2 separate regions of the Homo sapiens genome follow, and region 2 is linked to region 1. Evidence: promoter capture Hi-C in 16 types of primary human blood cells and fetal thymus (Javierre and others, 2016). All regions are on one chromosome and are shown on one strand. Each heading gives the region's core, a stretch centred on a gene start or on the middle of the fragment in contact. The rest is flanking DNA. Distances are from core to core; before and after follow the strand shown.

Region 1 (7,038 bases), core at 4,065-6,564:
TAAACCTGTCTGATGAATATATCCAGGAGAAAATGTCTGAATTATATTGAACTGACAATTCTGAAGTCATTATTATTTTATTTTACCAACTATTTTAAAACTAGCTTCATTTCCCAAATATTATCACATACATGTAACACATATTGAGTTATAGAAATATAGACACATAGACACAGCAGGTCTTAGAGCTTTCATCAGGAATTCTCATTTGCCAGCTTTCAAAAATAAAGCAAAATTTAGACAGATTAAATTTAACAAAGTTAAACAAAAAACAATTCACAGCTCCCCAAATCAAAACAGGTTGAGAGAGACTGGCACTGCTGCATGGTCCAAACAATTTTATAGAAAAAAAGGTGACATACAAAAAACAAAAATAAAATACAAAAACAGCTGGGATTACAGTGTGAGCCACCGTGCCTGGCCCCTTTCTGAATTCTTTTATTGTTTATAGTAAGTTTTCAGTTGATTTTTTTTTTTGGATATACAATTATATCTGCAAATGGAGATAATTTAACTTCCTCATTTCTAATCCTTTTGTCTTAGACTGATTTTGTGGTGTAATGGTCTTTGCACTCCTGGCCTTGCTGGTCTTTTCCTTCCTGTCTTTTTTCTAAGCCTGAACTGGTAGCCTCCCTGGCCATTCTCTGTGTTATTCAATATACTTTCAATAAATTCCTTTTCACTTAATGTCAGAACTGGTTTTCTGTTACTTTATCTAAGAAGCCCAACTAAATGTTGATTTTGCACATATAGTGCAAATAATGCCCAATGATGCATTATCAGTAGTGATATCTGTTGCCATTTATTGAGGGGCTATTGAGGCTGTGTGCCAAGTCATTTGTATATATAATACCAATCAATTCCTAGACAATGTGCCCCTGGTTATAGTATCATGTTTGAACTCATCATTTCAGCTTCTTCAAAGAGACTGCTTTTTGTGTTAGTAGTAGCTCTAAAATGTAAGGTAAGAGCCAGTTTAATATGTATATGCTTTTGTTTGCTTTGAAATTATAAAGTCAATTTTTATTAGGTTAACAACGTTTCAGGTTTTTTTTTAAAGCAGTGATACCTTATTCCCAAAGCAAATGCTGGAAGCCCAGTATGAAACACATTTTAAAGGAAAGCTGCAAAGGTTGGGTAGATTACGTAGAAGGAAGTTACTTAACCTAGAATATCGTGATGTGTCTGAGCATAGACAAAAAGGACAAAGCGTTTGGATGATGAAATACAGACATTTCTGGACACAGATCTTGGTGGCTCATATGGGTTGAATTGTGTCCTCCAAAAAGATATATTGAAGTTCTACCCCCTAGTACCTCAGGTGACTTTATTTGGAAATAAGGTCTTTAGAGAAGTGATCAAGTTAAAATGAGGTAATTAGGGCAGCCCCTATGACTGGGGTTCTTATAAAAGGAGTAAATTTGAACACAGACAGATATACACAAGGGAAGACAATGTGAAGACACAGAAGGAATGTCTACAAGGAATGTCTAAAGCTACCAGAAGCTAGGAGAGACGTGTGGAACAGAATCTTCCTCAGAATCCTCAGAAGGAACCAATCCTGCTGATACCTTGATTTCAGATTCCATGGTCTCCAGAACTGAGATCCAGAAATTTCTGTTATTTAAGCTACCCAGTTTGTGGTACTTTGTTATGGCTGCGGAAACTAAACACAGCACCTATGTGGCCAACTGGACAGAGTTTTGGAATTGGAGTGTCCTACACATTCCAGAATGTATGTTCGTTGTAAATAATGTTTTTCTGGCATGGGTGAAGGACCTTGATTAATTACATGCTTGTTATTTATCAAAGATCTCTTCAAGCTCGGGAAGTGATCAATCCTTACAATTGTTGCGTTCATCACTTAAGAGTTGGAAAAAGCCTGTCTTCAAGTACAAACTTTTTATGTCCTAAACCAGAGACAGTAAACTGGCAACTGGCAATAAGTATTTTGTTTGGCCTACACAGTGTTTCGAAAATAGGGGGAAAAATGTACTTGCCAATATTTAAAGAGCAGATTTCTTATAAACATTTCTGGATGTTATGGTTTGAATGTCCCCTCCAAAACTCATTTTGAAATTTAATTGCCACTCTAACAGTATTGAGAAGCCGGACCTTTAAGAGGTGATTAGGTTATGAGGGCTCTGCCCTCATGAATAGATAATTGTTATTGTGGGAGTGGGTTAGTTATCCTGGGTGTGAGCTCTTGACAAATAGGATGAATTCAACCTGATTTGTTCTCTCTGTCTCTAGAGCTCACTTCTGCCTTCTACCCTTCTGTCATGGTATGGATGACCCTCACCAGATGCTGATGCCACACTCTTGGACTTCTCAGCTGCAGAAGCATTAGCCAAATAGTCTTCTGTTCATTGTAAACTACCCAGTCTGTGGTATTCTGTTATAGCAGCAGAGAATGGACTTAAACACTGGATTTCCGGTTTGCTTGAAAAATGAGAAGATTTGCATTTCCTCATGACAACAGTTGACTGTTGCTGAAGATCTGCTGCTTCCTTTAGTCAGGCCAGGAGTACTTCTGTCAGCTACATAGCCACCAGACCCACTTAATGGGCTGAGTCTATAAACCCTGTGCTGCAGTGAAGTAGGGAAACAATAAGAGCTAGTGTTTGCTCAGCACCGCTATGTAGCAGGTGCTTCCTAGACATTTATTCAACAAATATTTATTGAGGGCCTACTAGGTGCCAGACACTGCTCTAGCTACTTGGAATATACCAGGGAATAAAACAAACGACCCATGTAAAACTTACATATTAGTGGTGGATGAAGGACAGAATCAAATAATCATTATGATAAATAAGTAAATTACATGGTATATTAGAAGGCGATATGTTCTTTTTTATTTTATTATTATTATACTTTAAGTTTTAGGGTACATGTGCACAATGTGCAGGTTAGTTACATATGTATACATGTGCCATGCTGGTGTGCTGCACCCATTAACTCGTCATTTAGCATTAGGTATATCTCCTAAAGCTATCCCTCCCCCCTCCCCCCACCCCACAACAGTCCCCAGAGTGTGATGTTCCCAGAAGGTGATATGTTCTAAAGGGAAATTGCAAGTCCTGGGAGAAGGTAATTTGTTATTTTAAATGAGGTGGTCAGGGTAGGGCTCCCTGAGAAGATATTTGAGTGGACTCGGGAGGAGAGGGAGTTAGCCACATGGACTTATTGGGGAAGAGTGTTTCAGGCAGACAGAAAAGCTAAAGAAAAGGTCCAAAAGCAGGAGTGTGTCACTGGTGTTTGAGGAAGGCAAAGAAGCAAGTGTGACTGGAGCAGAGTAAAAAAGGGGAGAGTGGAAGGAGGAGTGCTCAGATGGTAAGAGACTGTGTCAGAATATGGAAGAGCTTGAGAACTGATATGGTTTGGATATTTGTCCCTGCTCAAATCTCATGTTGTGTTGTAATCCTCAATGCTGGAGGTGGGGCCTGGTGGGACATGCTTGGGTCATGGGGGTGGATCCCTCATGGCTTGGTGCTTGTTTAGTGATAGTGAGTTCTCATCAGATTTGGCTGTTTAAAAATGTGTGGCACCTCTCTCTCTCTCTGTCTCTTTTCTTTTGCTCTCTCTCTTGCTCCTGCTTTCAACATGTGACATGCCTGTTCCCCCTTCACCTTCTATGATTGAAAGCTCCCTGAGACTTCACCAAAAGCAAGCAGATGCCAACATAATGCTTCCTGTAAAGCCAGCAGAATCATGAGCCAATTAAACCTCTTTTCTTTGTAAATTACCCAGTCTCAGGTATTTCTTTATAGCCATGCAAGAACAGCCTAAGGGAAGGCCCTAGAAAGGACTCTGGGTTTTACTCGAAGTGAAATAGGGAGCCATTAAAGGGTTTTGAGCCAAAGAGTGATCTGATCTAACCTAGATCTTAAAATAATCACACAGCTGCTCTGCTGATACCAGACTGTAGGGGGAAGAAGGACAATAAGGGAAGCAGGAAGATGTGTTTGCAGGCTTTTTGCAGTGATCAAGAAGCGGCTTGGACCAGAATGGTAGCAGGGGAGGTGTGTTAACTGGTGAAAGTTAGGATGTCTTTAAAGGTAGAGTCAATCTCCAGATGGATTAGATGTGAGGTGTGGAACAAAGAGGCCAAACCAAAAACCCAAAGGTTTCTGCTTGAGTAACTGCAAGGACAGACTTACTATTTGAGATGAATAAGCTGTAGGAAGAGTAGATTTCAAGGGGAAAATCATCAGTAGCTCTGTTTTGGACAAGTTGACCTTGAGATGTATACTGGATATCTGAAGGAAACATTGAAAAAACTGTTGGATACAAGTTTGGAGTTCCAGGGACTTGTCTGGTTGGCAATAAATCTTTCCTCTTCTGATCTAGTCTCATAGCTTTAAACAGAATATAATGCCACATAATGCCAATGACTCCCAAATATTTATGGTTATGGTCGATTCCAGGCAGATTGTGGTGATGTGGCCATATTGCCAGCAAAGGGAGGTCAGGGTTTCTAGCGCTGCCTCTTTATCTCCGATTATGGAACAGGCATGGTTTTAGTTCCAGTGCTTGGGTCTCCCTGGATTTAGACATCATTCCTTTGAATTCCCACCCAATATAATGAGGGTCAATATCTTCGCTAGCTTTACTAAGTCTTAATTATCTGGTGAGGTGTAGACACAAATTTGAATCAAGGTCTGAAGTCCTTACCTGGGGCTCTTTCTTCCATGCCATCATGCCAGTCTTTGTGAAGACATTTTTCAAAGGCTCATTCTTCTTACCTCTTTTCTAGGAATTTTAGTTTATTTCTTTACTTAACTTCAGAAATTAATTTCTCACTTCATTTTAGTAGCAGGAATGTTAGTGCTGAGAAACTGAGATGTTAGGGAGAATCCTTGACCAAGACTTCCAGGCTCTAGATACTAGGTGTGTCTTGCTCTAATTAAGGAAATCTTATCTGCTCCATCTTAGCCCAGTTTAACGTCCCCAGGAATTCCATCTTCTGCAGTCCTAAACTTTTCCCTTTTTCAATTCAGTGCAACTTATACTCTTCTCTGAAAGTGGCTCCAGGTCTGAAGAACTGTGGTCTGGGAGGAATAGAAAAGCATGCTCAGCTATAACCAGGCCCACATCCCCTAAGTTGCCTGCCCACCAAGTTACGGGCCGGACTTATGCGCCACGCTTTGTCCGGGGACCTCGCGCTGTCCTCCCTCCGGTTCCCACAGAGCAGGGGGCTTCCGGCGGGGTACCCTCCTCTGTGGGCGGGGCCTACCGCTCCCGCTCCCGCCTCCCCGGTTGCGCGCGGCTGCGGGCTGCGATCACGTGAGCACAGCAGGGAGGGGGAGGGGCCCTGATTTCCGGGCGGCGGAAGGAGACGCGGCCGCGTGAGGACGAGGCTATTTGAAAACACGCTCCGGGAGCTAGAGCCTGAGGTCGGCGGCGCACGCTGTTGCCCCGTGGGCTTCTGCTCCCTCGCTTGTCTTCTCGGGCTTCTCGCCCCGGCCGCGGCCGGGTCCTCAGGTAAGCGGCCGTCGCCCGTCGGGCCGGGTCCTCCCGGGGCGCGGGACTGAGCGTGGTGGGGCCGTCGCCCCCCGATCCGCGGCCCAAGCGGGCAGGGTCGGCCGTGCACGATTTGCGTCCCCCGGGTCTGGGCCGCGGCGTCCCTCCGAGCTGGGCCTGGGTGTGCGGCCGGCACTGCGGGGGCGGGACCCCCTAGGGCGTTTGCGGAGCTTCAGGTGACTGGGCGGGTTCGCCTGGTTTCGGGTCCGAGAGAGTTTTAGCCCGGAGTGTGTGAATCGGGCCCCACTTCCCCGACTCTGGTCCTGGCCGGCGTCCCTTGGAGTAGGAGGAACGATGGTTTCCTAAAACCCATGGTGTGTTCGCCTCTGGGATGGATGCAGGACCGAATACGGAGTGGGGATGAGCTGGCGTCCCCTGTTCCGTCCTCTGGTCGCCCAGGCGGGAGAGTTAAGCGAGCGGAAGGGGACTACCAGTTTTCTGGGGTCGCCCCTGCCTGGGCCATTTGCTTTTTGGGAAGTCTGTCGCCTCTGGTTGGCCCCTCAGTGGAGTTTGGAGGAACTCATGAGTTTAAGGGTTTGGGGAGGAAATTATCAAAGGCCGAGTGCAGTACGATCGTTCTCTCTGATTTTTTTTGGAAAAGAAGGTGGAAATGAGGAAGGGTAAGAAGGTGGCAGGCAAACTATTTATAGTTGGAATTTAGTTCGATTGAAATCCTAAAAACGCTAGGATCTGCCTTTTGTTGGAATTAGAAAAGACCTACAGTAGGAATGTGTGACATTCAGCTTTGAAACTATTGGGGATCGCAAACCTAAGGACTAGTGATGTGAGCTCCTCCTCTGAGACTGGCGTTCCTACCTTTTGCTAAAAACCGGCTACTGTAAAAGTGGCTTAGTGGGACTTTTTGATTTGCTGTGTTATGAAAATCTTTGTTATAAGTTAAAGTCAATTACTAGTAGAACTTTGAGAGTTCTTCGCATGAAAATGCTTTGTATCCCGTAATAATATTACTAGGTTTGAAAAGTCAAGGAAGGTCAATCAGCCTTCTTAATTTTCCTAACAGAGAAAGCATTAATGTGACTAATACAAAGCGATAGATAATATGGCATGAAGTTGACAGTAGACTGTTGAAGATCTATCAGGTGGTTAATGGCTAAATAGAACCCACAGGAGTGGAGGAGGAAGGGAGTTAATTTTTCTGAATGTCCTGTACCATTTACTTTCGTGTCTAGTACCAGCTAGTAATAAAATTGTAGGAAAAGCTCACAAAGTGTGCTTGCTTAATTAATGAAAACCATTTTTGTATTAAAAGAGGCCAGGTGAGTATCATGGCCTTCTTTTTAGGCCTTATTCCCTCCCACCCACCCACCCACCGACCCCCAGCTTTTTTTTTTGTTTTGTTTTGTTTTTTAAGACTAAGGTAACTAGAGGTGTGGGTGAGATGAAAATTTGGTAATAGGGACAAATGAAATAAGCCAAACTGTTTTGCCACGAAGACTTCCAGTCTTCAGGTTAATTCTGGTATGTTAAAGGTGGTTTTGCAGAGCTCAGTTCTGT
Region 2 (6,996 bases), core at 3,423-5,922, 540 kb after region 1:
TCTTTAAAAATGTCTTTTTGTTTCAGTTATCTTGGATCTATGTATTTGGGATGAATCTTCTTTGGGATGAACTTATTGAGTACTTAGCAGTTCTTGGCATGCTAAGAGTAGGTATTAAGAGGAAGAGTGGTGCTCCGTAAACATTTGATGATTGAATGAAAGCAGTTTGCAGGAAGCTTTATCCAAAATATTCTATTTTCTTTATCTTAACCAGCCTCACGGCCTTAGAACTTTTCTGGGATAGTTTCACTCGTTAGGCATAAGAGAGGAGCGTACATCACTGTGCTGCTGCACCTGCACTACCCTCTTCCACCGTTGCACCGAGTCTACAGACACTTCTGGTTGCCCAGATTGAGGGAGGTACCCCTGAGTTATAGCACTCTGGGACATCTGCATTTGAACTGAGAACCGATTCAGGTGTCCTGAGGAATTGTTATGCCTTACTTTTTAACCCCAGGTACCCCCAGGAATTAATCTCTGGCTTATCTCTCTATTTTGATATGCCACTTTTGCTGCGATAGTTTCACAAGATTGTGTTCTTTTCTCTTTTCTTCACTGTCTCTGCCTGGGCGGCATATATAACCTATTCATCAGTGAGTTCCTCAACTCTAATTGATTTCCAACTGTAATCCTCACTTTGCTTTCCAGTTCTAGATGTTACTATTCAAGGCCTCCGAGTGCATAGTTACTTGTCTAATATCTATCACCCATAGACTGAGAGGCTTACATGTAGGGTGTTAACTAGGAACTCAACTTATATCTACTTAACATATTTAAACATGTTAAGATTTAATTTTTGAAAAGATAATACATTTACATGATTCAAATGACAAAGCATTTAGAAATGAGAAGTTTACTTTCCACTCCGGTCCCCTACTAAATGACCCTCCTTCCAGAGTTGTTGTTATTGTTCTTTTTTTTTTTTTTTTTTTGAGACAGAGTCTCTCTCTGTTGCTCAGGCTGGAGTGCAGTGGTGCGATCTTAGCTTACTGCAACCTCTGCCTCCTGGGTTCAAGAGATTCTCCCGCCTCAGCCTCCCGAGTAGCTGGGAGCTGGGACTACAGGTGCAAGCCACCAGATTCGGCTAATTTTTGTGTTTTTAGTAGAGACGGGGTTTTACCATGTTGGCCAGGGTGGTCTGAAACTCCTGACTTCTAGCAGTCTGCCTGCCTCAGTCTCCCAAAGTGCCGAGATCCTTCCAGAGTTTTTTAATGCATTTCCAAGACACTACAAATATAAATTCTGTTTCCCTTTCCTTTTTTATACACATGGAAGCTTACACGTATTGTTCTGCCTTTTTCACTTAATAGTGTATCTTGGAGTTCTGTCCATAACAGTGGAAAAATATCTGAGATATATCTGAGATATATTTCATTTATAATGTATCTTGGAGATCTCTTCATGTCATTGTGTGAATATATCATTATTTAGCCAGCCCCATATTGATGGACATTTGGGAAGTTTTCAATCTTTTTGCTGTTTCAAGTAATGCTACAATAAATACTTTTGTTATATAGATTATACTTGTGCAAATATATTTGTAGGATAAATTCCTAGCAATTGAGGGATACAAATTACAAGTAATGCTACAATAAATACTTTTGTTATATAGATTATTTTATACTTGTGCAAATACATTTGTAGGGTAAATTCCTAGAAATTGAATTACTGGGCCAAAGGGTATATATATCATAGTAGTTTGATAGGTACTACCAAATTACTCTCCATAGAGGTTGTACAGTTTACACTCCACTAAAAATATAGGCAAGTGCCTGAATACTCATATTCTTGCCAACAATGTGTTATTTAACCTTAGGTTTTTTTCCAGTCTGGTCGGTGAAAATGTTATCTTAGTGTAACTTTAATTTCTTTCTCTCATGAGTAAGTTAGAACATCTTTTTCATATGCTTAAGAGCCATTTATATTTCCTTTTGGTGAAGTGTGTCTTATATCCTTTGCCTATTTTGGGAGGTGGGGGTGGTTTAAAAATCACTTTGTAGTTGCTGTTTATAATATGGAGATTTGCCCTTTGTTATATGAGTTGCAGCGTATTTCCCCGTAGTTTGTCATTTGTCTTTCAACTTTGCTTATGATGTTTTTGCTATGTAGATTTTTTAAAAAATGTACTTGAATTTGTCAGTCTTTTATGACTTCTAGATTTAGTCATAGTTAGAAAAATCTATACTACTCCAAGGTTATGAAAGAATTCCCTCACGTTGGCTTTTACTACTTTCATGGTTTCTGTTTTGCATTTAAATTTTTGATCCATTTTTCCTGGTGTATGGTATGAGAGGTAGGTCCAACTTTATTTTTTTCCAAATGGCTACGCAGTTGTCTCAACACCATTTGTGAATAGTCTACCTCTACGCTGTTTTGCTTCTTACTCAAAACAAGACTGATTCATCTCCTTTTTTTTTTCACACCTACTCTGCTGTGACTGAATATGAATACAATTCTCTGCTTTCCTTCCTGTAGAACACCTTCTTCAGTGGCAGAGATGTCTTTCTCCCTGCTGCCTCCCTGCTTTCCTCAGCAATACCGCACGCAGCCTGGCAGTCAGTTAATGTTGGAATGAATACGGGGTACTCAGAAGCTCTCCAGGATTTTTCATTGAGCAATAACTGGTTAAAAAGAAATCCTAACTGTAATCAGGTTCCTTAGAAGACTGTTCAAACTGGAGATGTCTTCGGGCTCTCTCTAGTCATGGTGATCAGTTATTCCAGAAGCTAAAGGTGTACTACCTGGGTCCTTTACTCTAGAGGCAGTCCGATTTGGGTTGCTTCCCTCCATGCAAATTACTCTCATCTGCTACCTCTGCTTTGTCTGACAGCATGGGATATTACCTTCTGTAATTTGAGATGGGAACCATAAAATGCCAACAAGGTGGTGTTGATTCCCCATGATGCAATGGCCAGCTCAAGAACCTCATTTACTTGGAAAGTGAGGCTGTGGATAAATGATTTTGGAAACATTCCTTCTCAGTTTGAACCCCAAGCAGATGTTGTTTCATCTGTGGAACCTAGGGAAAACCCTAGCTTTGTTCTTCTAGGTGAGAGTGTCCAAGCAGGCAGATGAAACTGAATTTATTTGATACCTTTCCTTACTAGCATTCTCTAAGCTATGTGGGCTAGTTTTATAGCTACCTGATAAAAGACTTCCTTCCACTTTGAACCATTGCCCTAGGCTATATTTCCTTTCTAAACTTGTCCAGGCCATCTTGCCTATTCTTTATTATTGAGGCTTACCTTTTGATCCTGTTTCTTATCTCTGCCTTCAGACTTGCCGCCTGATGCTGGTAGTACCCTCTTTGTCCAGTACCAATTTGACTTAAAAGTTATTTTGGCCAAAAGCAATGTGGTCAAGTACAATTTAGCTGAAAGCAAGTTGGTTAACTGATTTGTTGTAATCAGCTATTAATTGAAACAATGATTTCGTCAAAACAATGAGTTGGTCAAAATGAATATCCTGTTAATAGTTTTTGAGTAGTGGTAATTTCAGTGTAAAATGATTAGATACTTTTGGTCCATTTTCTAGGGACTTTTCCAGTATTTTTCTTTTACAGTTCAAGTTAACTTTCAGCTATGGCAGCATTTGATTGCTTGTGATTTCAAAAAGTTAAAGCAACCTAGCTACCCAGTAATAGGAGAATAGTTGGACAAGAGTAATCTTAACTAAAAGGCAATAAGAGGTTAATTGGAACAAACAAAACACCCAGTGATAAGATAAAAACATGTTTCCTGTATTATTTTTCTTTTCCCCTCATAAAAAAGGCTGTGCATATGCAGTACAGGACATTCAGAAAAATGTAGATAAAGACTAGAAGGAAAAAAGAAAAAAGCTATAAATTAATTCACCCAGGAATAACCACTGTTGTCCTTCCCTATCCTTCTAAGTGCATTTTATACACATAAACTCTACCTATAGTTTGTAATTTGCCATAATTTATTTAAGCATTCTCCAGTTATTGGTTAGTCACTTTTGTTGAGAATCAGATTTTGGTTCCTTTGTGCAACTGTGGGCCAGGCTACCTTTAGCTGGGAATAGATTGCCTTTCTCTTTTCCCTTCTGTCCCTCAATCCTGCCTAGGCCTGCATCCAGCCTGGGCTCTCAAGGCCCCCCTGCCTGCTTTAAGTGAGACACTTTGTAAATGAAACCATTCTGCCAAGCCTTTCTATGGTTACTAAAGAGGCCTGGTTCCAGAATTCCTGTGGAACTCTCTGGTTATATATAAAAATTTTTTTGGAGTTCATGCTTGATATATGTTATATGTATATGTATGCAAATCAGATAGAGTGAAGAGATGGGAGGGATTATATTGGGTCTCCATTAAAATAAGAATAAAGAGGCATTGCAGCAGAGAACTCCATTATCAGTGGAGGGAAATTAGGAGATTTTCTCTAAAACAGGGTTGGCAAATATGTGCTATGTGTTGTGCCTGAACCTGAGTCATGATAGACTCACTAATCAGTCATGGCACTATTTCTCACTAGATCCAGACTCAGCTTTAAGTCTTTCTCAAGGTTGGGTTCTAGGTGGCTGTATCCACTGTAGTTGCTGTGGGAGACAAATGAGTTACTACTCTTGCTTCTAAGATGTTACATTAAAGTTATTGTTTTTTGTTTTTTTTTTTTTACAGTGGATTGACCAAGAAAGTTTTTGTTTGTTTGTTTTTCTTTGAGACAAAGTCTTGATCTGTTGTTCAGGCTGGAGAGCAGTGGCAAGACCATGGCTCATTGCATCCTTGACCTCCCGGCTCAAGCGATCCTACTGGCTTCAGGTAGCTGGGACTACAGGTATATGCCACCACACCGGGCTAATTTTTTTTAATTGTAGAGACAGGGGTTTCCCTATGTTGTCCAGGCTGGTCTCAAACTCCTGGGCTCAAGGGATCCTCCTACCTTGGCCTCCCAAAGTGCTGGGGTTATAGGTGTGAGCCACCATGCCTGGCCTGACTGGGAAAGTTTTAATAAAATGTTTTCTATCTGATAAATAAGTTCATGTTGAAAAATATGGGATGTGAGCAAAGAGTAATTATCTGGATTTCAGGCAAAGCACATGCCTTGTAGTTAAGATCATTGAAGCAGCATAATCACATTATAGATTTGTTATGGAGTGAAAACAATGTCATAATAATACTCATCAGTATAAATTGCCCATGGTATGGTCATGGTGATTGACTCCCCAGTATTCATCCCACCGCAGGTGATTTGTCTAAGCAGTCATGGTTAATCCCATTTCCCTTGCCGGTGAAGAGTTAGGAATGGCCTGTAACCTATTCTGGCCAATGAGAGATGAAGGAAAAGTCTACAGACGGCTTGAGTGCTTCTGGGAAAGGATTTATTGATTCTAAACAGAGAGAAAAGAAAGAGATGATGCCTCATCTCCCTGTGATTTTATGTTTGAGTATAGTGGCTAGAACTGCTCTATCCATCTTGGGACCATGAGGGAAACTAGCTTTGGGGGGTGCAGCTGATCTAGATGATGACAGAACAGATGGAAGAAACCTGAGCCCTTGATGACCTTCCTGAATTGCTGATTGTATTGTACTTGGTCTGCCTTACCTCTGAACTTCCAGTTCTGTGAGATAATACAGTTCCTCATTGTGTAAGTAGGCATGATCTGCGAATTTGTCATTTGCAGCCAGAAACATCCTGATGTGATACCTACTTTGTCCCAAGCAGATTCACGTCAGGTGGATTTGATATTATTTGGATAGGTTTCTTTTTGCTGGGGCTCTTCCCTCCCCATGTCTTCTGCCTTCATAAAGTGGATGCAGATTCTAACTGGCCAGGTCTTGTCTCTATCTTTTCTAAGGGGCTCTGCCTTAGACCAGGGATCTTCATAGGAAGCAGCAAGGAATCAAACAGCACTCATTGTCTCTTCCAGAGTCTTTTGGGTTGTTTGAATATCTGGTGGTGTGACTGCTACCATTTGTTGTTCATTCCTTCTTTTTCTGATTCTGATTCTGATTTCTTGCTTAGATCTTGGTCCTCACTTTTGTATATTTTGTGTCTCATGCCTGACCTCAAGATTGTTTGATAGATTTATTTTCTTCTCTTCTGCAACTCTTTCCCCTTATCTCCTTCATCCACTCCTTCCTCATCTTGTGACTTGATTTTGTGGCCAGTGGAGACTATTCTAAGCAGATGGGTATATGTTATTTGCCAGGAGCAATAGTGAGTTACATGAGTAATCATACATCTATTTGCTCTAGACTGGTAGAGTAAAAAGTAAGAGTAGTTCACCCCTTGGTCTTCTCATCTAGTACCTTTCACTCATGGCATAGAATAATAGAACTGGAAATGGTCTAGGAGTCAGAGCATTTGAGTCTTCATTATGGCCTAGCCATTTGCTACCTGAAATTTTGGGCAAGTCTCTTAAGTATATTTTTTCCTTAAAGTTTGTTGCTATTGTCTGTCTAATTTTTAAAATAGTATTATAGTGATTCAAATGAAATAATGAACCTGGCAAATGAGAAGGTTTTTTTAAAAAAACACTCAAACTTGGTTGGATTTTCTGTTTATTTTCAGTGAACTAATGTCAAAGTCTCTAAATTGTGTAGTTTGTTAGTCTCTTTGTAGAAAGGCAACGGAGTATGATGTGGGGCATAATAGTACAAGTAATTAGGGATTGAAATTTATATTTTAGTGTTAACTAGGCCTGAAAAAAAGAAAAAAGGCCACACGATATTAAAAATAAAGGTCAGGATGTTGATCTTGAGGCTTATTTCTAGTTCAACCAGAAATTCTGGTCAGCCGAATTAGGGGGAAAGAGAAACCAATAAAAGAAACACCCCCCTCTAGTGGCGAGGGGCCAGATTCTCCACTTGGTTGCTAAGATGGATGAGGGGAATGGATAACTTCTTAGGATATTTTTTGTTTCTTAAGAATTCTGAGGTTGTAGAGTTAGACTACTTAAGGGAGATCTTAGTTCAGGCTTTATTTGTCAGGAAACTTAACACATTTCTCAGGATAACTAGTATCTTGTCAGTCTCAT

The links. Contacts are between HindIII fragments. The CHiCAGO score rates a contact against its expected background, and 5 or more counts as called.
Region 2: a contact is called between a fragment that was not itself captured here and the fragment with the promoter of TEX10 in region 1, in 1 of 17 cell types (total CD4 T cells). The highest score is 6.1, in total CD4 T cells.

Annotation. Positions count from the first base shown.
Region 1 is chr9:100,351,218-100,358,255 of GRCh38, reverse strand. It overlaps TEX10 (testis expressed 10), which reads left to right and starts at 5,314. Exons shown (of 15, transcript NM_017746.4): 1 at 5,314-5,484. It overlaps LOC105376177 (a long non-coding RNA gene), which reads right to left and starts at 5,206. Exons shown (of 4, transcript NR_188642.1): 1 at 4,675-5,206; 2 at 4,161-4,259. RefSeq lists enhancers at 4,987-5,621, 6,026-6,075 and a silencer at 5,136-5,685. The HindIII fragment of the contact is 13,255 bases long and covers 1-7,038 here.
Region 2 is chr9:99,807,264-99,814,259 of GRCh38, reverse strand. All of the region lies in intron 1 of LOC101928438 (a long non-coding RNA gene), which reads left to right. Among named protein-coding and RNA genes, the nearest start is that of NR4A3, 11 kb to the left of the region's middle. The HindIII fragment of the contact is 6,789 bases long and covers 1,278-6,996 here.